3 separate regions of the Homo sapiens genome follow, and regions 2 and 3 are each linked to region 1. Evidence: promoter capture Hi-C in 16 types of primary human blood cells and fetal thymus (Javierre and others, 2016). All regions are on one chromosome and are shown on one strand. Each heading gives the region's core, a stretch centred on a gene start or on the middle of the fragment in contact. The rest is flanking DNA. Distances are from core to core; before and after follow the strand shown. Region 1 holds the start of SENP1 (SUMO specific peptidase 1). Region 2 has its middle 16 kb from the start of ANP32D. Region 3 overlaps ENDOU (endonuclease, poly(U) specific).

Evidence for each region. Contacts are between HindIII fragments. The CHiCAGO score rates a contact against its expected background, and 5 or more counts as called.
Region 2: a contact is called between a fragment that was not itself captured here and the fragment with the promoter of SENP1 in region 1, in 4 of 17 cell types (M2 macrophages, M1 macrophages, naive CD4 T cells and 1 more). The highest score is 5.7, in M2 macrophages.
Region 3: a contact is called between a fragment that was not itself captured here and the fragment with the promoter of SENP1 in region 1, in 1 of 17 cell types (fetal thymus). The highest score is 5.0, in fetal thymus.

The regions. Positions count from the first base shown.
Region 1 is chr12:48,104,033-48,107,409 of GRCh38, forward strand. SENP1 (SUMO specific peptidase 1) reads right to left here and starts at 2,047. Exons shown (of 18, transcript NM_001267594.2): 1 at 1,996-2,047. It also overlaps a transcript of PFKM not described here. RefSeq lists enhancers at 1,044-1,919, 1,425-1,634, 1,920-2,793 and a silencer at 1,775-1,914. The HindIII fragment of the contact is 3,654 bases long and covers 1-2,784 here.
Region 2 is chr12:48,455,276-48,458,529 of GRCh38, forward strand. It overlaps a transcript of C12orf54 not described here. Among named protein-coding and RNA genes, the nearest start is that of ANP32D, 16 kb to the right of the region's middle. The HindIII fragment of the contact is 1,129 bases long and covers 834-1,962 here.
Region 3 is chr12:47,719,174-47,722,578 of GRCh38, forward strand. ENDOU (endonuclease, poly(U) specific) reads right to left here. Exons shown (of 10, transcript NM_001172439.2): 2 at 1,580-1,702. It overlaps RPAP3-DT (RPAP3 divergent transcript), which reads left to right. Exons shown (of 4, transcript NR_183480.1): 2 at 1-99; 3 at 427-526. Among named protein-coding and RNA genes, the nearest start is that of ENDOU, 4.6 kb to the right of the region's middle. The HindIII fragment of the contact is 1,899 bases long and covers 638-2,536 here.

The sequences.
Region 1 (3,377 bases), core at 797-3,296:
AAACCCTGTCTCTACGAAAAATACAAAAATTAGCCAGGTATGGTGGCAGGCACCCATAATCCCAGCTACTCGGGAGGCTGAGGCAGGAGAATCGCTTGAACCCGGGAGGCGGAGGTTGCAGTGAGACAAGACCAAGCCATTGCACTCCAGCCTGGGTGACAGAGCGAGACTCTGTCTAAAAAAAGAAGAAAAAAATATATATAGAGAGAGAGAGAGAGAGAGACGGGGGGGGGGGGGGGGGCGGAGGGAGGGAGAGAGAGAGAGAGAGAGACGCAATGTTAGCTTTATCCAGGACCAAGATGTGGTTAGAACAATTTATGATATAAGAAGGGTGTGAAAGCAACCATGTGAAATCACCCTTTTCCAAGTTCTGAAAAACAATTATGTGTACAATAGTTTGTACTATATCGTCATGTGTTTGAGGTTCTTTCCTTCTATTTTTACATGTAATCTCTCCCAATCACTCTAACACCTTAAATACCTTAACACTCTAACGCCGTAAACCCTAAGTGTTCAAATTCTTTCATACACATTCATTTACTGTGCACCGACTACGTGCATTAAGAAAGGGTCCCTGCCACTGAGCAGCTCACTGTCCAGTAGGGAAAGCCAGATCCATAAACAGGTACCGCAAGACAGTAGAGCTGGTACAACTGATAGAAGATGTAGAAGTTGGGAAGAAAAGGACAAGAGTTCCAAAGCCGCAATGCAAGTCAACAACTGCATTCCCTTAGCCAGAAGTAGCAGAACCTGTTTTTGTACCCATCCACTCCCTCTAGACAACTCATTAGATGAGTGACATGAAGACCATCTTTGCAGTTGGGATAATTAATTGAAGTCAGTTAAAAATGAATAAGCCTTCCTAAAAGGGACTAGAGAGGAAAAATAAAGGGTGGTAGAGTGTAAACTGGAAGTAGGTTAAGGGATCATGCTTATAGAGATGCTTAAAGTTGCGCTTTAACTGTAATTTCAAAGTCAGGGTAATCTGTATTTCAACATGAGTCCTTAACACAAATTATTTTTATGAAGAATAAAGATTTAGGAGATGATGAGATCTAATACATCCAGAATAACCAATTATAACAAAGACCCTCAGTCAAATAGTTGGTAGTAGATAAAAGGCTTTATATGAATATTACAAGAATCACCACCACTCCAAATATAATAAGTGTACCAAATATGAAGTAAAATGACTTTAACAAGGCTGACTTGAAAGTGATAAAGAAGCAAGTTACTGCTAACAAGATAGTGGAAATACTGCACAGGCACCGATAAACAGAAATCACCAAGCTCAAGGAAAGAGAAACGAGGCATAGATCCAGAGATCACGTTAGGGTACACCAAGAAAGAGACGGTTCAAGGGAATTACCAGGAGGCGATGAGCCAGGTAAGCAAATTGTGGCAGTTAAGGGGATTTTCATAACCTGAGCAGGAGGGTCCAGACGTTTCTTTCTGATGGTGGCACTAGCGATATCACATCTCAGGGAGATACCACAGAGTAGGAGAGTTGGAGAAATGTTTACGTGAGACGCAGAAGTAGTCAAGAAATATCACTCGGGTCTCAAGGAAGGCGGGAGATGAAGCCGGTACCACAGAAAGCCGAGCTTCCCGGTGAAAACAGCTCTCCCCAGAGAAGACCCAGCTCTGGCGGGAAAGCCCCGGAATCGCAACCGGCCTTTCCCCAAGTACGGCTGGGCGCTGGGATGGGGCCTGCTGTAACGGCAGGGAGACGGTCTCTCCGCGGCCCAGGAGAGAGAGACCAGAAGGAACGGCCTCAGGTAGCCTAACGGCCACCGGCGGCCACAGCGCGGCCACCGGACAGCAGGGGGGAGGGGAGGTGGTCCCAGGGGGCGGGGCAGAGGAAAAGGCGCCGGCCCCACAGTGCTCCCCGCTTCCGCCCAGTCCAGCCCGGGCCGGCTGACCGGGTCCGACACAGTCTCCTGGACCAGGCTCCCTCCATCCTCACCCCTCCCCCAGCTTCCCGCCGCCACTCACCGAACCGGAACCGGCTGCCATGCGAAGGGGTTTCCGGCCGGGCGCGGAACGCAAAACCCGGGAACCGCCGCGAACCGGAACCGCCTTCACAGCACCGGAAGAGTCGCTAGGTGGCTGAAGAGGAGGGGGCTGGGGCAGGAGGTCAAAGAACAGAGTTAAGGACCAGTGGGGCGCCTGCGCGGTGTGGCGAGGCCCGAGAAGCGAAGGGAGCATTTAAGACTAGTCGTAATTTCTCAGTACCCTTTTCAGTCTGGGCTTTTTCGCTTTCTCGTACTCGGAATACTGTTAGTGAGCCCTTCGTCCTATGCTTTTCTCTGTTCCCTCTGCTCCCTTACCCGCCGCCTTCTGGTTCCGCCCGGCGAGTTTTGCTTGCTTGCGTTCCAGTTTCCATGGCAGCTTTTCGCGGTGGCCCTAAATCTGCGGAAACCTGTGGCTTCCCCCGACAGATAGGGACCTGAGATCTAAATCGATCTCAGGCTATCTCGTGTTTTATTGAGAATCACAGAACGTTAGTGCTTGTAGAGGTTATTGGAGATACTTTAGTCTTACCAGGTTCAGAGAAGTGAAGTGATTTCCCAAAGGTTTTAAGTGCACGGCCCATCTAGGACTAGGAAACAAGTTTCTTAACTTGCAATCCTGTACTCTGCACCACCTCATACTTGATTGACCATTCAGCAAGCAAACAAACAAACAAACAAGCAACTTGAGGACGGATTAGGCTAGACTCTGGCAAGATGTAGAACCTTCCAGAACTCTGGAGGAATTTGAAACAGGCAGAGCTGTGAGGAAAGCTTTTGGGAGCCCACTAGAGATCTGCTTTTCTGGGTAGAGATAGAGAAGGACCCAGGAATCACCTGTGACCTTTGAAGGGCTTTGTTGTTCCTGGGACACATTGATTAACCTGGAATCTGCCATACTTTCTAAGAGAACATAATGGGAAGAAATATGTTTGTTCATTCAGGCTTTTTGTCAAGCACCTCAGCTTGGCAGGCCTCTGGACCCAGGCCCTGTAGAAGTCTTAGAGAAATGCCCCCTTAATAGGTCCTTTACACCCAGATCACAGCCACAGGCACAGTCTGAGCTCAGACTTAAAGAAGGGCAGTTTCTGGAGGCCCCCAGCCTTTCTGATACTCTCAGCAGCTTGCTGAGTTCAGGGTTTCCTCCCCTGTCAAATACATCAAAGTAGATTATTTGTATTGCCTCATGTGCTGATACTTTTATATTATATTGTCAAGTCCTAAGGCCAAGTAGTCATGAGTGTAGCTGGTCCATGTCAGTCACTGACATCTTATTTCACAGCTCTGTTCGTTTGGATTAAACTCTGTCTCTATTTCTAGGAGGCAGCCATGCATAAAGACGAGTTTCATCTGAAATTTTTCATG
Region 2 (3,254 bases), core at 148-2,647, 350 kb after region 1:
TTTATTCTTTTTGATGGCAGCATAGTATTCTATGGTGTATATATACCACATTTTCTTTTTCCAGTCCACTGTTAATGGGCATCTAGGTTGATTCCATGTCTTTGCTATTGTGAAAAGCGCTGTGATGAACATATGCATACATATGTCTTTATGGTCAAATCAGAGTTTTGACTGCCAATTTTAAGCAGCTCACCAAACCCATGGCTTGGGATGCAGACAGAGTTGTTACAGATCTCAGAGAAACGTCAGCAGAACAGCAGTCTTTGTCAGAGACACAACCATATTCAGCCAAGTTTTTCTTTCAGATCTTCCAGGTTTTGGAGCAGAGAGGCTGAAGAAAAGATTTAAATAACAAGAAAACCTGGAGTTGAGCAGCACCTAAAGATCAGTGAGCAGCTCCAACATGATTGTACAGAAGAGCTAACAGGCACTGGAAGTCTAGAGAACAGGCAGAGATACCCCCTGCACTGTGTAAAATTATGAAAAATGTATCCATGAGGTAAGATTTGATACATACACATAAATGATCAAAATCTGTCCTTCATTGTCTGTTTGACAGTGAATAAGTTTCTTCGCCTTCTATTACTCAGTTGCCTTATTTATAGAACACTAACAATCATAGTAACTACTCAGTGAATTTTCACAATGGTTAAATAGTGATAATAATTAAAAAATAACGTGATTGAATCCTTACCATGTGCCATACGCTATTTTAAGTGTTTTACACTGATTATCTCATTTCTTCTCACAAAAAGTATAAGAGCATATAAAGCTCTTAGCTAATATTATGTCAGTAGTTTGTACTCAATAAATTATCATTTAAAAGTCTGTAAAGCTTTCTCTATATCTCAACGAAGTAGGGAAAACACATTTTTTAAGCAGCTCAGCCAACAACAATTGTTTTCCAGGCACTGTATTGGGCCCTGGGTATATAAAGACGAGTAGGAGAGAGTCTCTGCCTTTAAGACACTCACACTGTAATGAGGAATAAAGTTATACTGACAGCTGTAATGCAGTATAGTAAGTTATACTCTACCAGTGTGACAAGATTGCTATGGGAGTTCAGAGGAGGAAAAATTCAAGCTGTATCAAGTGGTCAGGGAAATAGTTACAGGAAAGATACCATTTGACCCTGCCTTATCTAGAGAAGCAAGTCTTAGAACGAGGAGTGGCAGAAGTCTTCCCGGCAGAGGAACCAGTTTAGTAAAGGAAGAGAGATGTGAACAGGTAGCATTTGAGATTAAGATCATGGACTCTGGAGCCAAAGAGGGTTAAATTTGAATCCCAACTCTGCTCCTCGCCTGCCGTGACCTTGGGAAAGCTATTTCTCTTTGTTTCTTTGCCTGGAAAATGGCTTTGACAATTGTTCTCCATGTTAGGTTGGTTGTGAGGATGAAATGAGATGTTCACATAACATTTAGCATATTGTCTAGCCCATTAGTGCTGTGTTATTATTAATATATTTCCCTCTGTCTAGGTTCTCATCAGTTGAAAAAACTGAACTATCTGTTAATTATCAGCTTTTTTCTTCTTTGGCAAGCAGAATAAACCACATTAAATGCACACATCAATTGTAAGAAGCAGCTGAATCTCAGAAACACCAAAGTACGAAAAGTGTGCATCTTCAAATCAAGGAAAGCATATTATCACCATTATGAGGACCAGTCTGCCAAGAATCTTTCATAGGATGCTGAATATTTAGATGTGATCCTACTGTTAAAATCTTTCCTTTCTTGGTGGTTTCTAGATACTTTGTAGCTCCTAAATCATGCATTAAGTTTAGTGTGTAGTTACTTGTGTCTGTCTCCCCTATTAATATGTGGTCTCTGTGTAATATGTCCCCAGCACATCGTGGGTAATCCATAGACTATGAAATTAAATGGAATCAGACCAAGCTGGGGGTGGTATAGAGTGAGAGGTGACCGTAGGGCCCCAGGCCCGAACTCAGAAGAATGGGCCGTAAGCTTGGTGCCAAATGAATGCAACAAGCAGTTTTTTGTTGTTGTTGTTGGTGGTGGTGGTGGTGGTGGTGGTGGTTTTTTATTTTTGTTTAGTTTTTTTGTTTGTTTGTTTTTTGAGATGGAGTTTCACTCTGTGGCCCAGGCTGGAGTGTGATGTCTTGATCTCAGCTCACTGCAACCTCTGCCTTATGGGTTCAAGTGATGCTCCTGCCTCAACCTCCTGAGTAGCTGGGATTACAGGTGTCTGCCACCACACCCGGCTAATTTTTGTATTTTTAGTAGAGACGGGTTTTCACCATGTTGGTCAGGCTGGTCTCGAACTCCTGACCTTGTGATCTGCCTGCCTCGGCCTCCCAAAGTTGGATTTGCTCTAGTCCCGGGCTTCTCTGCCAGGGAAAATTGTTCTGATGGTGTTTGGCCCCTCCAAGCCTGTCTCTAATGGGATGGGGAAGTCAGCTTCGGCTTCGGTGCCCAGAAGCTGTGAGCCTCTCCAGTCTGCTGCCTCCTTGGCTTTGGGTCCTCTTTCTGTGTGGCATTCTCTACCTCCACAATGACACTGAAATTGTGTCCTGCGGGAGAAGCAGCTATGAGGCCATTGAGCATCATTACCCAGAGGACGGGATGACTGGGGAGTGATGTTCTGCCTGGCGTTCCAGGGTCTCCTTATTGCAAGTTGGCACTTGTCCCTTCAGGCCCCAGCAGCTTCTCCCTCCTCTGACAGATCACAGAAAGCTTAGTTGACAGGAGTTTGAGGAAGCAGCTCCCCAGTGTCTGAGCCCAGGAACAATTGCTGAAGGCAAGGGTGGCCTGTGCTTTACTTCCCTCACCTACAGACTTTTGAAGAAACTGGCCAGAGGCCCACCTTGTTTTCGGCTTCCTCTCAGCAGAAATATCAGAAATGCAGAAAAGGAGGCAGACACCCTTGAGGCTTTCCTAGTGAACTCCAGCCTGACCTGCTGGAGTCAATTAAATGCACAAACTGCCCTTGGCCTCATTCACTGCAACTGCTCAGCAGCTAGTGAGGAGAATATTCTGGATTTAGAGAATATTTGTTGATTGGTACAGGAGAGGGATCTAAACAGTCAAAACTCTGAGCTATATGCATTGAAAACACATAACTCAGTATTTGAGTTAAACATACATGGAATTTTATTATCGGGGTGTTTGGACAGAATAGGCTTCTCTTTCCCATAATTGTTCATATCACCTTTCTACTGCTGTATTTTAACAACCACCTCTCTGTTGACCTCCATACCTGATTCATATGCTTATTTACTGCATGGCTCACCCAAA
Region 3 (3,405 bases), core at 337-2,836, 390 kb before region 1:
AACTTGAAGATGAAATGGCTACTACGCTGGGTATTGCCTTTATCTTGAATGCCAGCCTGATGGTCCAAGGTGAACAAGCCTTCCTGTGTTTTCTGAATGGTAAGAAAAAGTGGGGACACAAGGACAGCAGAAAAGGCATAGGCTCTGATTCCGGCTGATCTCGGCCTGGGTCTCCCTGCCTGGGGAAGGAGGTGTATGTGTGTGTGCTAATATATATGTGGTGCTAATGTATAATACATATGCTTATATGGTGATATGGTTTGGCTGTGTCCCCCCTCAAATCTCATCTTGAATGGTAGCTCACATAATTCCCATGTGTCACGGGAGGGACCTGGTGAGAGGTAACTGAATCATGGGGACGGGTTTTTCCTGTGCTGGTTCTCGTGATAGTGAATAAGTCTCACGATATCTTATGGTTTTATAAAGTGCAGTTCCCCCGCACTTTGCCTGCCACCATGTAAGATGTGTCTTTGCGCCTCCTTTGCCTTCCACCATGATTGTGCGGCCTCCCCAGCCATGTGGAACGGTGAGTCTATTAAACCTCTTTTTCTTTACAAATTACCCAGTCTCGGGTATTTCTTCATAGCAGTATGAAAATGGACTAATACATATGGTGTTTTTGTATAAATTGAAAAAAAGCTTCCATACGAGTGGAAGCAGCTCTGTGGGTGCTTGACTGGCTACCACCTTTGGGCAAATTCAGAAAACACACTTGTTTCTCTCAGCAGACACAACTCTTCACCAGTGCACAAAACCTGATGAGAAGGATACAGACTGGATTTTGGTCCAGCTTGCTGCTTAACTAGGTTCCCTTGCACAACGCACAACCTGTGCAATGATTATGCAGTGAAATTGATGGCCATTACCTAACGTGGCTTCAGTGACCATGTTTTCAAAACTGGGAGTCAGAGTGCATGGCTTGACATCAAGGCTTTGTGTCACAAAGCAGAAGATCATTAATCTGGGAGTTGACAACATTGGAAGCACCTAAACAAGTTGATTATTCATACAAGATTTTTTTCAAGTATTCATTTAAAACTATGCAGTTAAAGGTGGTGCATGTCCTGTTCTAATTGGTAGGCTGGAAATGATGGTATGGAGATGTTGCACCACGTGGTCCCTTCACTAGAGGAAGAGTGGTATGAATCGTGTCCGTCACTGTGACACCATGCAGTCTTCCTGGCAGTACACAAGTTGTGAGAGTTTGCTACCATTTTTACATTTTTGTGATTTAAAGTGTTGAATAACAATTAATAATGTCATACATACTAAAATATTATTTTTATCATTTTACCCTTTTTTAGAATTTAGTACTTAAACTTTCAAGATATTGTTAAAACTGATATTTCAGACAGAAATTCTAGGTAAATGACATCTACTGTATTTTAAGTTGGGGGCATCCTAGAAAACCTGAGAAAAGTGGTGGCCAAATTCCTGACCCTGCCTCTGTCCCTCAGTGCTTTCTGTCCAGACCCTTAGAGCCCCTGTGAGTCCTGAACGCTGCTCTGGCCTGCTGGACACCCAGGCCAGTGGCCCCTTAGACAGGCTGGACATGCCTTCGTCTCACAAGGAGGCTCACCAGTACACAGATGTTCATAGTCTTCACAGCAGTTCCCATGCCAGAGACACCGGCGGTCACACTGGCAGGCAGCGTCCCGGTTAAATTTCTCATTACATCGAGATGCACAGGATTCTATTTTTCCTATGGGCAGTAAAGGTCACCAACTCAGCTCTATGGAGACCCTGTTCTCCCCAGGGTGCCTCCTGCAGGAGGGTTCACAGACCAGGGCAGGAGTGTACCTGGCAGGGAAGGGCATTACTCTCTGCAAAGGAGAAGTACATCCACAGCCTCCCATGCACAACATAAGCCTCCTCCCCACCACCCAACACCCACCAAATATTTCAAGGCTCATCAAAGAGACCAGGATCACAAACCCAAATCCCTATTTGGGTTAGGCCCATAACATAAGCAAGTAAAGAAGCAGGGTATGAGGCAGTAGGAAGAAATGGAGACCGTGACAAACTTGAGAGCAATGCTCCATCTGAAATTTGCAGCTGATGCTCAGCTCTAGCCGATTGTGGCCATGTTGGGATGTGTGCTCAGTGTTGCCAGAGCCTTCCCTTTTTTTTTCAAGATAAATCTTCATTTTTATGTGAAATTTTCCAACCTTGTAACACTTTAAGCACACCAAAGAAAGAGGTCTGTGAACTGGGTGTAGCCCACAGGCCCCCTTCACCTGTCATGTCATGCTGCCCCAGGGATGTCCCCTGCCCCTGACCCTCCGCTGGCTCTTATTCCATCCCTGTTATGTTATTTGCTTCTTTGCTCTTGTCTCCCCTTCTGGTCTTCTCTGCACGCTCTTTCCCCCTGTGTCACATCTTTCTGTTCTTTCCCGTCTTTGGAGTACATTCAGATGAATTTATGCTCAGGGTGGGGAATGAGGCGGGTGCGGGTGAGAATTGGGCTCTGGCATAGCATTCTATTATGTAACCACAGACCACATCCCCCACTGCAGCCAAATGGTTTGCAGAAGCAAGCTTTTGGTCGCAAGGGACATAAGACAAGACATTTTGAAGGAACAGTGGAAACCCACTATCCACTCTGGGCTTTAAGGGTGATAACAGAGTCTTTGTTCGATTTGAGGTTCCTGAGGTTTGGATTTCACGAACGCTGGGTTCAGAGGTCATACTGTGGGTTACAGAGAATGTCAAGATCAGAGTCAGAGTTACCATCAGCATCAGAATTTGTATCAGTGAGGAAACTGAAACCTAATTTGGACCAGGGTTGGGGTTAGTTAGGTTAAGAACTACAGTTAGGATTTGGGCTTGAGTTAAATTAGTTGATAAATTAACAATTTTGTATTGATATTTGGGTAAGGAATAGGAATAGACTTAAGATGACATTCGGGGTTGAGGAATGTGTCAGGATGAGAAAAAGATGAATAATCCCTGTTTTGTTTGGGGGCTTGGTTCTGGTTATGATTCAATACAGGTGTAGTATCTTAATTTAAGCCTGGAGTGGGTTAGAGCTTAAATATTAGAGGTTGGGTTTGGTTACCAGTCCCTAGTATTGGATTCTGGGATTAAGGTTGATACTTTGTCTAATGAGGGACAGCATAGCAGAGAGGTCAAGAACCTAGACTCTGGCGCCAAACTGCTTGAGGCTGGAATTCTGGTTCTACTGCTTTCTAGCTATGTGATCTTGGGCAAGTTATTTGAACTTCTGTGCGTTGGTTTTCGTATCTGTAAAAGTGGGATGATAATGGAGCCTATCTCATAGAATATTTGTAAGAATTAAATGAGTTAATATATGTAAAGCACTTAGGACAGCAAGTGACACATAGTAGTACCATAGAAGTATTTGTTAGGTGAATAAACGGTGGCAATATTTCATGCCCATCTTCC